Linked DNA regions of Homo sapiens: region 1 is linked to region 2. The links are contacts of gene promoters, found by promoter capture Hi-C in blood cells and fetal thymus (Javierre and others, 2016). All regions are on one chromosome and are shown on one strand. Each heading gives the region's core, a stretch centred on a gene start or on the middle of the fragment in contact. The rest is flanking DNA. Distances are from core to core; before and after follow the strand shown. Region 1 overlaps LRTOMT (leucine rich transmembrane and O-methyltransferase domain containing). Region 2 holds the start of NUMA1-AS1 (NUMA1 antisense RNA 1).

Evidence for each region. The method cuts DNA at HindIII sites, captures the fragments that hold promoters and counts their contacts. A CHiCAGO score of 5 or more calls a contact.
Region 1: a fragment that was not itself captured here is called in contact with the fragment with the promoter of NUMA1-AS1 in region 2 in 10 of 17 cell types (endothelial precursors, naive CD4 T cells, non-activated CD4 T cells and 7 more); the score reaches 13.1 in endothelial precursors.

The regions. Positions count from the first base shown.
Region 1 is chr11:72,095,316-72,100,816 of GRCh38, forward strand. All of the region lies in intron 5 of LRTOMT (leucine rich transmembrane and O-methyltransferase domain containing), which reads left to right. LRRC51 (leucine rich repeat containing 51) reads left to right here. Exons shown (of 6, transcript NM_145309.6): 6 at 64-1,580. The coding sequence ends at 205. It overlaps LAMTOR1 (late endosomal/lysosomal adaptor, MAPK and MTOR activator 1), which reads right to left. Exons shown (of 5, transcript NM_017907.3): 2 at 3,796-3,941; 3 at 3,466-3,543; 4 at 2,974-3,100; 5 at 1,977-2,599. The coding sequence ends at 2,507. Among named protein-coding and RNA genes, the nearest start is that of LAMTOR1, 5.2 kb to the right of the region's middle. The HindIII fragment of the contact is 4,108 bases long and covers 1-3,372 here.
Region 2 is chr11:72,012,833-72,018,159 of GRCh38, forward strand. NUMA1-AS1 (NUMA1 antisense RNA 1) reads left to right here and starts at 1,459. Exons shown (of 4, transcript NR_104178.2): 1 at 1,459-4,055; 2 at 4,527-5,327. It overlaps NUMA1 (nuclear mitotic apparatus protein 1), which reads right to left. Exons shown (of 27, transcript NM_006185.4): 13 at 4,855-4,995; 14 at 3,576-3,698; 15 at 63-3,428. RefSeq lists enhancers at 2,113-2,860, 5,017-5,327. The HindIII fragment of the contact is 6,447 bases long and covers 1-1,464 here.

The DNA.
Region 1 (5,501 bases), core at 69-2,568, 82 kb after region 2:
CTAGTGGAGGGGGAAGGGGATTCTGGTGGGGGTGCTGGCCCCCAGCCTAAGTCTTCCCCACAGGCAATATGTGCTGTGCACCCTGTCCCGTATCACCACGTTCGACTTCAGTGGGGTCACCAAAGCAGACCGCACCACAGCTGAAGTCTGGAAACGCATGAACATCAAGCCCAAGAAGGCCTGGACCAAGCAGAATACACTTTGAGGCTCCCACGACCCTAGTAGTCCTAAAGGCCTAAGCATAGACAGCATGGTTTGACAATAAATAATTTGAGCTGTTGAGCAGATGAGAAGTCACTTACACCTTGTAGAGATGTTCTCTAACTCAGGCAACTGCAAGTAGCTCTAGCCTTTTCTTTTCTTTTTTTTTTTTTTGAGACGGAGTCTCACTCTGTCACACAGGCTGGAGTGCAGTGGCACGATCTTGGCTCACTGCAACCTCAGCCTCCCAGGTTCAAGAGATTCTCCTGCCTCAGCCTCCCCAGTAGCTGTGATTAAAGGCGCCTGCCACCATGACTGGCTAATTTTGTTGTTGTTGTTGTTGTTTTGAGACGGTTTCACTCGTCACCCCAGCTGGAGTGCAGTGGTGCGATCTCAGCTCACTGCAACCTCCGCCTGCTGGGTTCAAGCGATTCTCCTGCCTCAGCCTCCTGAGTAGCTGGGATTACAGGCGCCTGCTACCACATCCAGCTAATTTTTTTTTTTGAGACGGAGTCTCGCTCTGTCACCCAGGCTGGAGTGCAGTGGCACGATCTCGGCTCACTGCAAACTCCGCCTTCCAGGTTCACGCCATTCTCCTGCCTCAGCCTCCCAAGTAGCTGGGACTATAGGCACCTACTACCACGCCTGGCTAATTTTTTGTATTTTTAGTAGAGACGGGGTTTCACCATGTTAGCCAGGATGGTCTCCATCTCCTGACCTTGTGATCCACCCACCTCGGCTTCCCCCAGCTAATTTTTTATATTTTAGTAGAGACAAGGTTTCGCCATGTTGGCCAGGCTGGTCTTGAACTCCTGACCTCAGGTGATCCGTCTGCTTTGGCCTCCCAAAGTGCTGGGATTAGAAGCGTGAGCCACCACGCCCAGCCTTTTTTTGTATTTTTAGTAGAGATGGGGTTTCGCCATGTTGGCCAGGCTGGTCTCAAACTCCTGACCTCAGGTGATCTGCCCACCTCAGCCTCCCAAAGTGCTAGGATTACAGGATAAGCCACTGCACCTGGCCAGCTCTAGTCTTATTTTGCTGAAAAAGGGAGGCAATTGAGGGAAAGGCCTGCTGGCCTGGGACACTGGAGACGTGGGTTTACCACACAGCCTTGGGAAATTTATCTAACTCTCTGGGCCCCTTTGTACTTTTCAGCTTAGAGATTTGGGGGTTAAAGTAGATCAGTAATTTCCAAACTCTTCACAGAGTACCAGGGTCTGTAGAGATGCCTCACAGGCCTCCATGACAGGCCAAGAAGATGGCCTATGATCTCTGAAACCAGCCCCCACTTCAATCAGATCAAAGTAATTCCATTCTGTTTTATATGCTGGGATTCTGCTTAAGATTTCATTTGATAAAAAGAATCTTCTGCTTAAAAACATTTGCTTGCTGACTCCATATTAGGTATTCCCAGAAGAGCCTGGTCTGCTTTCTCTCTCCACCCCCCAACCCGCCATGTCTCCCTTCACCCCCAGGGGCTGTTGGTAATTCCATTGAGTCTGAGGCAGGGCCCCCAAGAATCAAAGCTGCCTCAGATTCAGGTCTGTTCAGCTTTGACAGTGTTCCCATCATCACTGGACAAGGGACAAGAACAGTCTCATCCAGTCTGAGGTTAGCCCAAGCCAGGTCTCAGCTAAGAGCTGACACCCTAAACCCTTGTCTCTTGGGTTCATCTTCAATATCCCTGGAAGATGTCCCCTTCCCCCCATCTTACTCTCATAGACCTAAGTAATCAAAAGTAGAATGGGTAGAACAGAGGGGCCAGAACCAGCACATGGATGAATATACTTCCTTTATCGAGGGTGACAAACCAAAACAAAAAAAGACCAAACATGTAAAAACCCAGGGTTCTAGAAATACAAACTCAATTCATTCAAATTCAAGCTCATCCAGACCCTGGTCACAAACCCTAGTGAGGTGCATGTGAGCACCAAGTCAGGGAGAGGGGGCAGGAGTGACTCTGAGGCCAACAGAGAGGGTGGGAAGGGGATCTCCCTAGGTCCCCTGGTGATCACCCCCCACCCAAACTGGTATCTCCACATTCTCAATGACTATGAAGACATACCAGGCTCTGTCCTTTTGGCCCCCACCCCATCCCTGGCCAGAGCTTCAAAGGCCAGTCCCAAAAGGTTCTACCCTCACTTGCTCAGGCTTCTAGCCTTCCTCTTCTCCTCCTTCTTCACATTTTTCTCTGTGATTAGTAGCAGGTTAGGGTACTGTATAAGCCGCAGTGAGGCTGGGGGCCAAGGGGGTGGGGTAGAGATGGGATGAAGAGAGGAGAAGAGCTGTCCAAGGACCCCTCTCTTCATGGGATCCCAAACTGTACAACCAGCTCCTCTTTTGCGTCCACACGGATCTGAGAAAGTGCACTGTAGGCATAAGCAGCTATCCTGGAGACCTGAGACAGAGAGGGGCCGGGGAGGAGAGGAACAGAGACAGGTGAGGAGGGCAATCAGGAAAAATGGGGAGGGGAGATTAGATGGTGATGGAGAAGGAGGGAATGAAGGGGAACAGGAAGGCAAAGAGAAAGACAGGGATGGGAGAGACAGAAGGAAAAGAACAAAGGGGAGTGAAACAATAAAGGTTGCAGGAAGGAGATAGGAAAGACATAAAAAGTTAAGAGAACGAGGTGGGAGGGAGCTGGGGCCTACAAGGCTACCAGGCTCCCTAACTCCACCTTCCCTACCTCCTCTGAGGCAGAGTGGGTGAACCCTCTGCCATACCCTGGGCAGTGTGAGAAGGGTGGGCAGGGGCAGGTGAGGGGTGTCTCACCTGCTGCAAATCAGAGAACGGGATGGGCTCACTGGCCAGCACTTGGTGGGGCTGGCTGGTAAGAGACGGCAGCGGTGGCAGCTTCTTCCAATGGGTCAGGCTGCTGCTCAGCACAGCCAAGCGGGTGCTGACCAAGAGAGAGGGGGTGGGGGTAGGCAGTTAAGCCACAGTCTGCCCTGCCCAGCCCAGGTAAGCCTCATCCCCTCAGGCCAGAGAAGCAGGGTGTCGAGGAGGGGTATCTGGGAGGGAAGGTCTCAGCTCATCACAGACTCAATCTAGGCCCATCTCCCTTGGCCTCAGCGCCCTCAAGAGTGTCACAGGGTAAACAGGGCTGACATGAATAACTACTGAAGCACCCAAGTGATCTGTGGTCAGTCTCCAGGGCTGCACCAAATGAGAAGCTTGGACTAGGGGCCAGGCTCCAAAGCTGGAACAGTGATGGAGGGTGGGAGCCCAAGTAGCCTGAGGGACCCACGCTGGCCAGGTGCTCACCTGTACTGCCTGGCACGGTCCATGTACTCATGCTGCTCCATGCCCTGTGAGTCTGCAGCAGACACATCAATGATGTTGCTATGGGGAGAGGAGACAGAGATGACATGACAGGTGCTTCCGAGAAGGACAAACAGGACTCAGTGCCAGGTACCAACTCCAGGGCTATCTGACACCAGTTTCCCTCCTGCCTACTGGAGCAGGGCTGGACATGGAGGCACCTCTCCCCAGTGACCTTGTCCCATCCCCCATGTCCTGAGCCTGGCTCCTTCTATCCTAGCCTTTAATATGGATAGAGGAGCTCTGACCCAGGCCTGGTCCTCTGACACTTACCTGGCTGTCTTGGCAAGGATGGAAGAGAGCAGGGCCTGCTCATCAGTGCGAGCGGAAGGCAGGCTGTGGTAGTTGGGCTCGGCTCCATTGAGAGCTTTGGTAGGGGGGCTGCTAGGGTCCAGCAGCAGCTTCCGCTCCTCTCGGTCCTAGAAGTGGTCATGGGAGAGAAGTCAGCCCCAGGACCCGTAGATCCTGCCTTTCACGGGTGCTACCCTTAGCCCAGCTCTGACCTTAAACACCAAAAATGTTTCTATAAGGAATATCTAAAGTGCCCAGCTTTATGGAATGCCAGATAAGACTCAGTTCCTGCCTATCCTTGGGAGCTCAACTGAGTTGGTGTTCTAGGATAAATGAGAGTGGAACCAGGCAGTCCTAGAGGCCCTGAAAAAATGGACAGAGGCACAAAGCAGGTAGTCAGCAACAGCCCTGGAGCTTGAAAAACATTCTAGGACCTGGCAAAGAAAGGATACTAGAGGCTGGAAGACAGTGGAGCTGAGACATAGCAAGCACTGGGATCTAAAGGGGAAATCAGTGCAAGTCAAGAGCCCAAGAACAGCCTTCCTCATCCCCTAGGACCAGGCCTTCCCCAGCAAAGCTGTTCGCTTCCAAGATGGAAGCCCTGGCGAGTCCAGACAAAGCCCTAGGCCCCAAGAGAAAGCAAGCCCAACCTCTCCATGGCCATTTCTCAAATTATGTCAGGGCAGGAATCCCAGCCCAGCTCTGGGTCACACAGTACAAGTGTGTTCCCTTCTTGAAGGCAGGTCCCTTCGAAGGTGTTCACCCTCCTGTGCTCTGGTGCTCTTTTTGTACGTGACTCCCAGAACCAAACTGAGTGTACATGGTGTATCCTGATCTGAGCAGTACAGCTGTAGCCATGTATGGTGATTCACACCAGTAATCCCAACACTTTGGGAGCCCAAGGCAGAAGGATTGCTTGAGTCCAGGAGTTTGAGACCAGCCTGGGCAACAAAGCAAGACCTCGTCTTTGCAAAAAAAAAAAATTAGCTGGACTTGGTAGTGTGAGCCCTGCAGTCCCACCTACTTGGGAGGCTGAAGTGCAACGACTGTATGAACCCAGGGTTTGAGGCTGCAGTGAGCTAGGACTGTGCCACTGTACTCCAGTCTGGGCAAGAGAGCAAGACCCCATCTCAAAACAAACAACAATGGCGCTGTTCCCTCCCTTGCTAAACCACCTGAGTAGCCCATGTAAATTTTCAGCAGCCCTGTTCCTGCTGGCCTGTGCTGATAATCACAACCCCTGAACTAATGTAAGACCAAACCAAGCTTCCTCATTGGTTTGGTCTTCCTCCTTGTCCTCTTTCAGTCCCCTGTTCTATCTACTGTAATATTTCTGGATTTGACCCTGCCTTGAGACCATCAGCTGCAAATCCTTGCTTGCTGTATCAGCAGTAAATGAGAAAAACAGACCTGCTGGGTATCTATCCAACCCATAAAGAGCAAGAGTGCCCTGAACAAAGCCAAGGATGGGCCCAGGGGGACATCCTGGCTAATGCTGACTCACCAACCTTCAGTGCCAGACTCCTCAATGCTCCCCTCCAGGCCTATCTCAGTTCCTCAGTCTTTCCTGCTGCAGGCCGCAGCTCCCCTGCCCACAACTCCACAACTCTCCTTGTAGAGGGCTACTTCCTCCTGCCCTGCTTAGGGAGGCCCAGCCTTTTCACCTTACTCTTCTTTCTCAAGGCTAG
Region 2 (5,327 bases), core at 209-2,708:
ATCGATGTCCCCGCGCTCTCAGCTCCTGATCTTTGGGAGGGTGGTTGGGCTGAGTACCTTACCTGGGCAGTGAGTTTCTGCCTCTCTTCCTGGAACCGCTGCCTCTCCTCCAGGACCTTGACCTTGGCACCCTCATACTTGGCAGTCATCACCTCCAGCTCCCGGGCAGTGCTCTGTGCTTCTCGCTGCACCTCAGCCAGACGGGTCTCAGCATCAGCACGTACGGCTGCCAACTCTTGGACATACTTCTCCCGGGCCTGGTCCAACTCCACTTCCAGAAACTGCCGGCCAAGGTTGGCCCGCTCACCCAGCCCCCGGTTCTCCTCTGCCAGCAGGCCATGCGCCTTCTTCAGCATGCTCAGCTGCTCTGCATAGCTGGCCTTCTCTGCCCGCAGCTGCTGAGCTGTTCGCTCCTGCTCTGCCACCTTCTGCCGCAGAGGAATCAGCTCCCCAAGCTCCCGCTGGGCCCGCAGCAGCTCTGCCCGCAGTCCCCCAGCGGCCTGCTTGCTCTGCTCCAGCTCCTCACGGTGGCGTTTCTCGGCAGCGGCCTGCTCGGCCTGCAGCTGCTGGCAGAGGTGCTTAGCTGGCAGCAGCTCACTCACCAGGGCCTGTGTGCTGGTGTGCTCGAGCTGCAGGGTGGAGAGGGCCTGCTCTTTCTGGAAGAACTTCTCCTGCCACGCCTTCAATTCTTGGCCCAGCTCCTCCGCACGCTCAGCCTGTGAGGTCAGCTCCTGCCGCAGGTTCTCTGAAGCCACCCGCTGTTTCTCAGCCTCCTCCCGGAGGCTCTGCACCTCCTCCCGCAGAGCAGAGCTGCGTTCTGCAGCTCTGGCACTGTTGCTGGCTGTCTCTGCCTGCAGCAGGCGCAGCCTCTCCTCCAGCTTCTGGCTCTTCTCTGACTCGGCCATCACCAGCCGCTTCAACTCCTTGCTCTCCCCCTCCTTCTCCAGGACCTGGCGATTCAGGATGGACACCTCCTCCTCCAAGCTGCTGATGAGGCTATTTTTCCTCTCAGCCTCTTGCCGGCCCCGGGCCACCTGGGCCTTCCACTCATCTTCAGCCTTGCTGTGGTCTTGTACCTTGGTGCGGAAGGCAGCCAACTCCCGTTGGGCCGAGGCTAAGGCACTCTGACTGTGCCCTAGCTCCTGGGCCTTCTCCTCTAACTGGCCCTGCAGAGTCTCCAGAGCACTGTCCCGCTCAGCCCGGGAGGCCCGCTCAGCCTCGAGGCTGCGTTCCAGGCTGTCAGCCTGCTCCTGCTGCTTCTGGCATTGCTGTTCCAGCTTGCTCACCTCTGCCCGCAGTGCCTCCAGCTTGGGGCCTGTTGGCTCTGTCCTGCCAGCAGCCTCAGATTGGGCTCCTGAGCCAGATGCGTGCTCCTTTTCTTTCTTAGCCAGCTGTTCCTTCAGTTGCTTCACGGTTTGCCGAAGTTCCTCCAGCTCTTTTATCTGGGCTGCCTCCAGACCACGAAGCTTGGCCAACTCCTGGTCCTTGCCTTCCTTTTCCGTCAGGGCATGAGCCAGTGCCTCTTGCAGGGTAGCGAACTCCACACGCTGCTCGTTGAGGGCGTTCTGCAGCCGCATCTCAAGCTCTGCTCTGGCCGCCTTCTCCAGGGCAAGGTCAGCCTGGGCACGGCCCCGCTCCTGGGTCAGCCGCGCCACCTCCCTTTCCTGCTGCCCACGCTCCTCCTGCTGCTGCCCCTGGCTCTCCATCAGCGCGGCCCGCAGCCGTTCCAGCTCATTGCCCATCTGCTCTGCCTCCCGCTCCATAGCCTGCAGCGCTGCCTGTGTGCTGCAGAACTGGCGTCCCTGTTGCTCTTCCAGCCACTCGGGCTGTCTGTCTCCTGCCCTCGCAGGCTCCTTGACTAACTCCCGGGAGGCTGTTTCCTGCTGCTCACCTGCCTTGCGCACCAAGGTCTCCAAGCGGGCCACCTCTTTGCTGGTGGCAGCCATCTTTTCCTGCAGAGTGGAGAGGTCATCTGCAAGCTTCTGGGCCCTGACTTCCTTCTCTTGGACCTGCTGGAGTGCTCTGGCCAGGTTGGCATGGAGCTCAGCTAGTTCGTTCTGCTGCCGGCTTATCTGGAGCTCGCTGTGGGATTCTATGCCTGCCACCTTCTCCTTTGCCTCCTGCAGCTCCTGGCGGGCCTTCTCACATTCCTCCTTCAAAGTCATCAGCTGTTCCTGGAACATGGCGCCATACTGTGCCTCCTCTTGCTGGCTATCCTCATACCGCTCACGCCAGGCAGCTACTTCTTTGACGAGCTGCTCACACTCACTCTCAGCTGTGTGCTGGGCAGCCATGGCCTCTGCCAGCTCCCGCCGCAGGACTTCAGTCTCAGCCTGATGGGCCTCCCCAAGCTGCTGTAATCGAGCCTCCAGCCCCTTGCGCCCAGCCCTCTCTTCTTCCAGCTCCTTTCGTTCCCGCTTATGCTGCTCCACCAGGCTTCGGGTCTCTGCCTTCAGCTCAGAGATACAACGCTGCTGCTCTTCCAGGGCATCTGCAGCCCTGCGCTTCTCCTCTTCAAGGCTGCCCTTGGTGACCTTCAAGGACTCTTTGAGGGCCTGGAGCTGCTCCTGGAGCTGGTCCTTCTCCTGGGCCACCCTTTCTTTCTCAGTTGCTTTTTGCTGCTCAGACCGCAGCTGCAACTCTAGCTCTGCAACCTGGGCCTGGGCCTCATGCTGTTCCTGGCGGGCTGTCTCAACACAGGCCTGGAGTTCCTCCACCTTCCGGCTCAGCTCTGCCTTCTCCCGCTGGGCCTGTGTCACTGAGGTCTGGGCACTGTCCCGGGCTTCATTAGCCACCTGAAGTTGCTGCTGCAGAATCTCCAGCTTGGCAGCCTTCTCCTTCTCCAGTGCCTCCAGCTGCTTGAGAGCCGCATCCCGCTCCCTTAAGGAGGCCTCTCGCTCCTCTGCAGCAGTGGCCAGTTGCTGGGCATGGTCCTGCCTAGTTGCCTCCTGCTTCTCCGCTACCTCCTTCAACTGCTGCTCCTTCTGCTTCAGGCTACTGCTTAGCTGCTCCACCTGGTGGCGGAGGCCCTGGGAGGCCTGTTCTTGCTGTTGGAGGGTCTGTGCTAGCTGGGCCTGCTTCTCTTTGGCCTGCTGCTTCAGGCCAGCCAGTTCTTGATCCTGTTGCTGGATGGTGGCATTGAGTGTGGTGAGCTCAGAGGTCAGAGAGGCCACCTGGGCAGTCAACCGGGCCCCATGAGCCTGGGAGGCCTGCTCCAGCTCTTCCTTGGCCTGGCTGAGGTTGGAGATGGAGCTCTGCAGGTCAGTGATCAGGCTAGACAGCTGCTGCTTTTCTTCTTCGAAGTGGCCCCGCTCAGCAAGCAGCTTGGCTTCCTGCTGGCCTCGCTCAGTCTCCAGCATCTCTACCCTGGCTTGGAGCTGTGTGTTGTTTGCAGCAAGAGTGGCTGCCTCTTGCTTCAAGGTTTCCAGCTGGTGGTATAAAGAGACAAACTGGGATCAGCATGACTCCTCAGTCATCAAGACTCCTCTGGAAATGGAGGAACACCAGGAACCCAAATGTACTGAATGTGAGTCCACACCAACCAGCAGCACACAGGTCTTTCTGTGCATTCCTACCTGCAAGACATCACCCAGCACCTCGCCCTTCTCCTGGGGTGGGTTATCCTGCAGCTGGGACAAGTGTTCTTCCAGCTGTGAAAGTTTTCCCTGAAGGATTTCGTTCTTCTCTTCAAGGCATTTCTGGGAGTAAATGAGACCCATGTGAACAGAGAGGGGGAACAGGCACCAGATTACCACACAAGCCCTCATAAACATCAGCAAACATGGGGCCCATCATCTTGTTACCAAGATCTCCTTTTGCCCTGGCCTAGAAAAAAGCAGAAACCATGGAACTGGGAGCATGAGGGACCTGATTCTCTAGACCTAGTTCTAAGGCACAATAAAGTCATAATGTAACCTGCTTACTACTTCCCCAAGGCTGCTGAGTTTACTTCAAATTTCCTTACCGTATACCCTTCCTCAGATAAGTCTTGAGTCCTAGATTATCCAAATCACCACCAGCTGCCCACCATCCTCTGGGCAGCAATACCACTGGCAGCAGCTGCAGCAACCCCCAGTCCCAAACCCACTTCTTCACCACTGTTCACTAAGCACCTACAATAGGCTATGCTGGGTTCATCCCTAATTTTTTTTTTTTTTTTTTTTTTTTTGAGACAGAGTCTCGCTCTATCGCCTAGGCTGGAGTGCAGTGGCGAGATCTTGGCTTACTGCAACCTCCACCTCCCAGATTCGAGAGCTTCTTCTGTCTCAGCCTCCCGAGTAGCTGGGACTACAGGCATGCATCACCACACCCAGCTTATGTGGGAGGCAGCTACTACCATTCCTCTTACAGAGCAAGAACCTGAAGCAGATGCTAAGTGCCTTGATCAAGGGCTACATGGTTATTAGTAAGTGGCCAAATTGGGTTCTTACCAATAGTAACAATCACAACTGGTTCACTGAGAGCTTACTTTACACTACACGATGTGTGAAGTGCTTTACATACGTTTTCTCATAATAGGTGATGAGGCAGCTACTCGTTACTACTCCCATTTTAGGGAAAGGATGCTTAGAAAAACAGACTGATTAACTTGTCCAAGATCCACATCTTGTGAACAGCAGAGATAGGATTGAAAGGTGTACTATAAAGTGAGGGCATTGACTGGGGAAAAAAAAAATAAGTTAAAAAAAAAAGGTGTACTAGACTGAAGCCCACAATCTTTCAATTACAGCACACTATTGAACCTTGAAGAGAAAGCAACTTAATACCCAAAGGCCCAGAAGAGCACAGTGGTAAACTGGACTCAGCTTTGCACATGTGGTCAAGACTGTGGCTGTGACCCCAGCAGAGGGTTACCTTGTCCTGCAGGGCTGCGCTGAGCTCCTTCTCCAGCTGGGCCTGCTTCTCTAGCCACTCCTGAGTGGCCTTGCTGTGCTCCTCCGTCAGCTCATTGAGGGCATCCTGTAGCTGCTGCAGATGACTGGCAAACTCCCGCAGCTGAGACGGGCAAGTGAGAATCCCCATCACCCAGAGTCAACGCTGACCCCACCACTGCTGTCTGCTCCCAGAACCCCAGGGGCTGGATGCCTCCAATTATCCTGCCAACCCTCTACAAACCAATCACAGCCATCACACCTCTAATTCAGAACTACAAATCAACATTTAGGGTCACAGCCCAGTACCCGGGAAGCCGCCAATTATGGGATAAGGAAAGGGGCAAAATATGCAGGTCTCTGGAGAGACTGAAGCATAAGACAGGTGCTGGGACATTCTTCTCAACCCTCTCTTGGGGAGCCTTCCAGACCACCTCAGCCCTGAGGGGCCTCCAT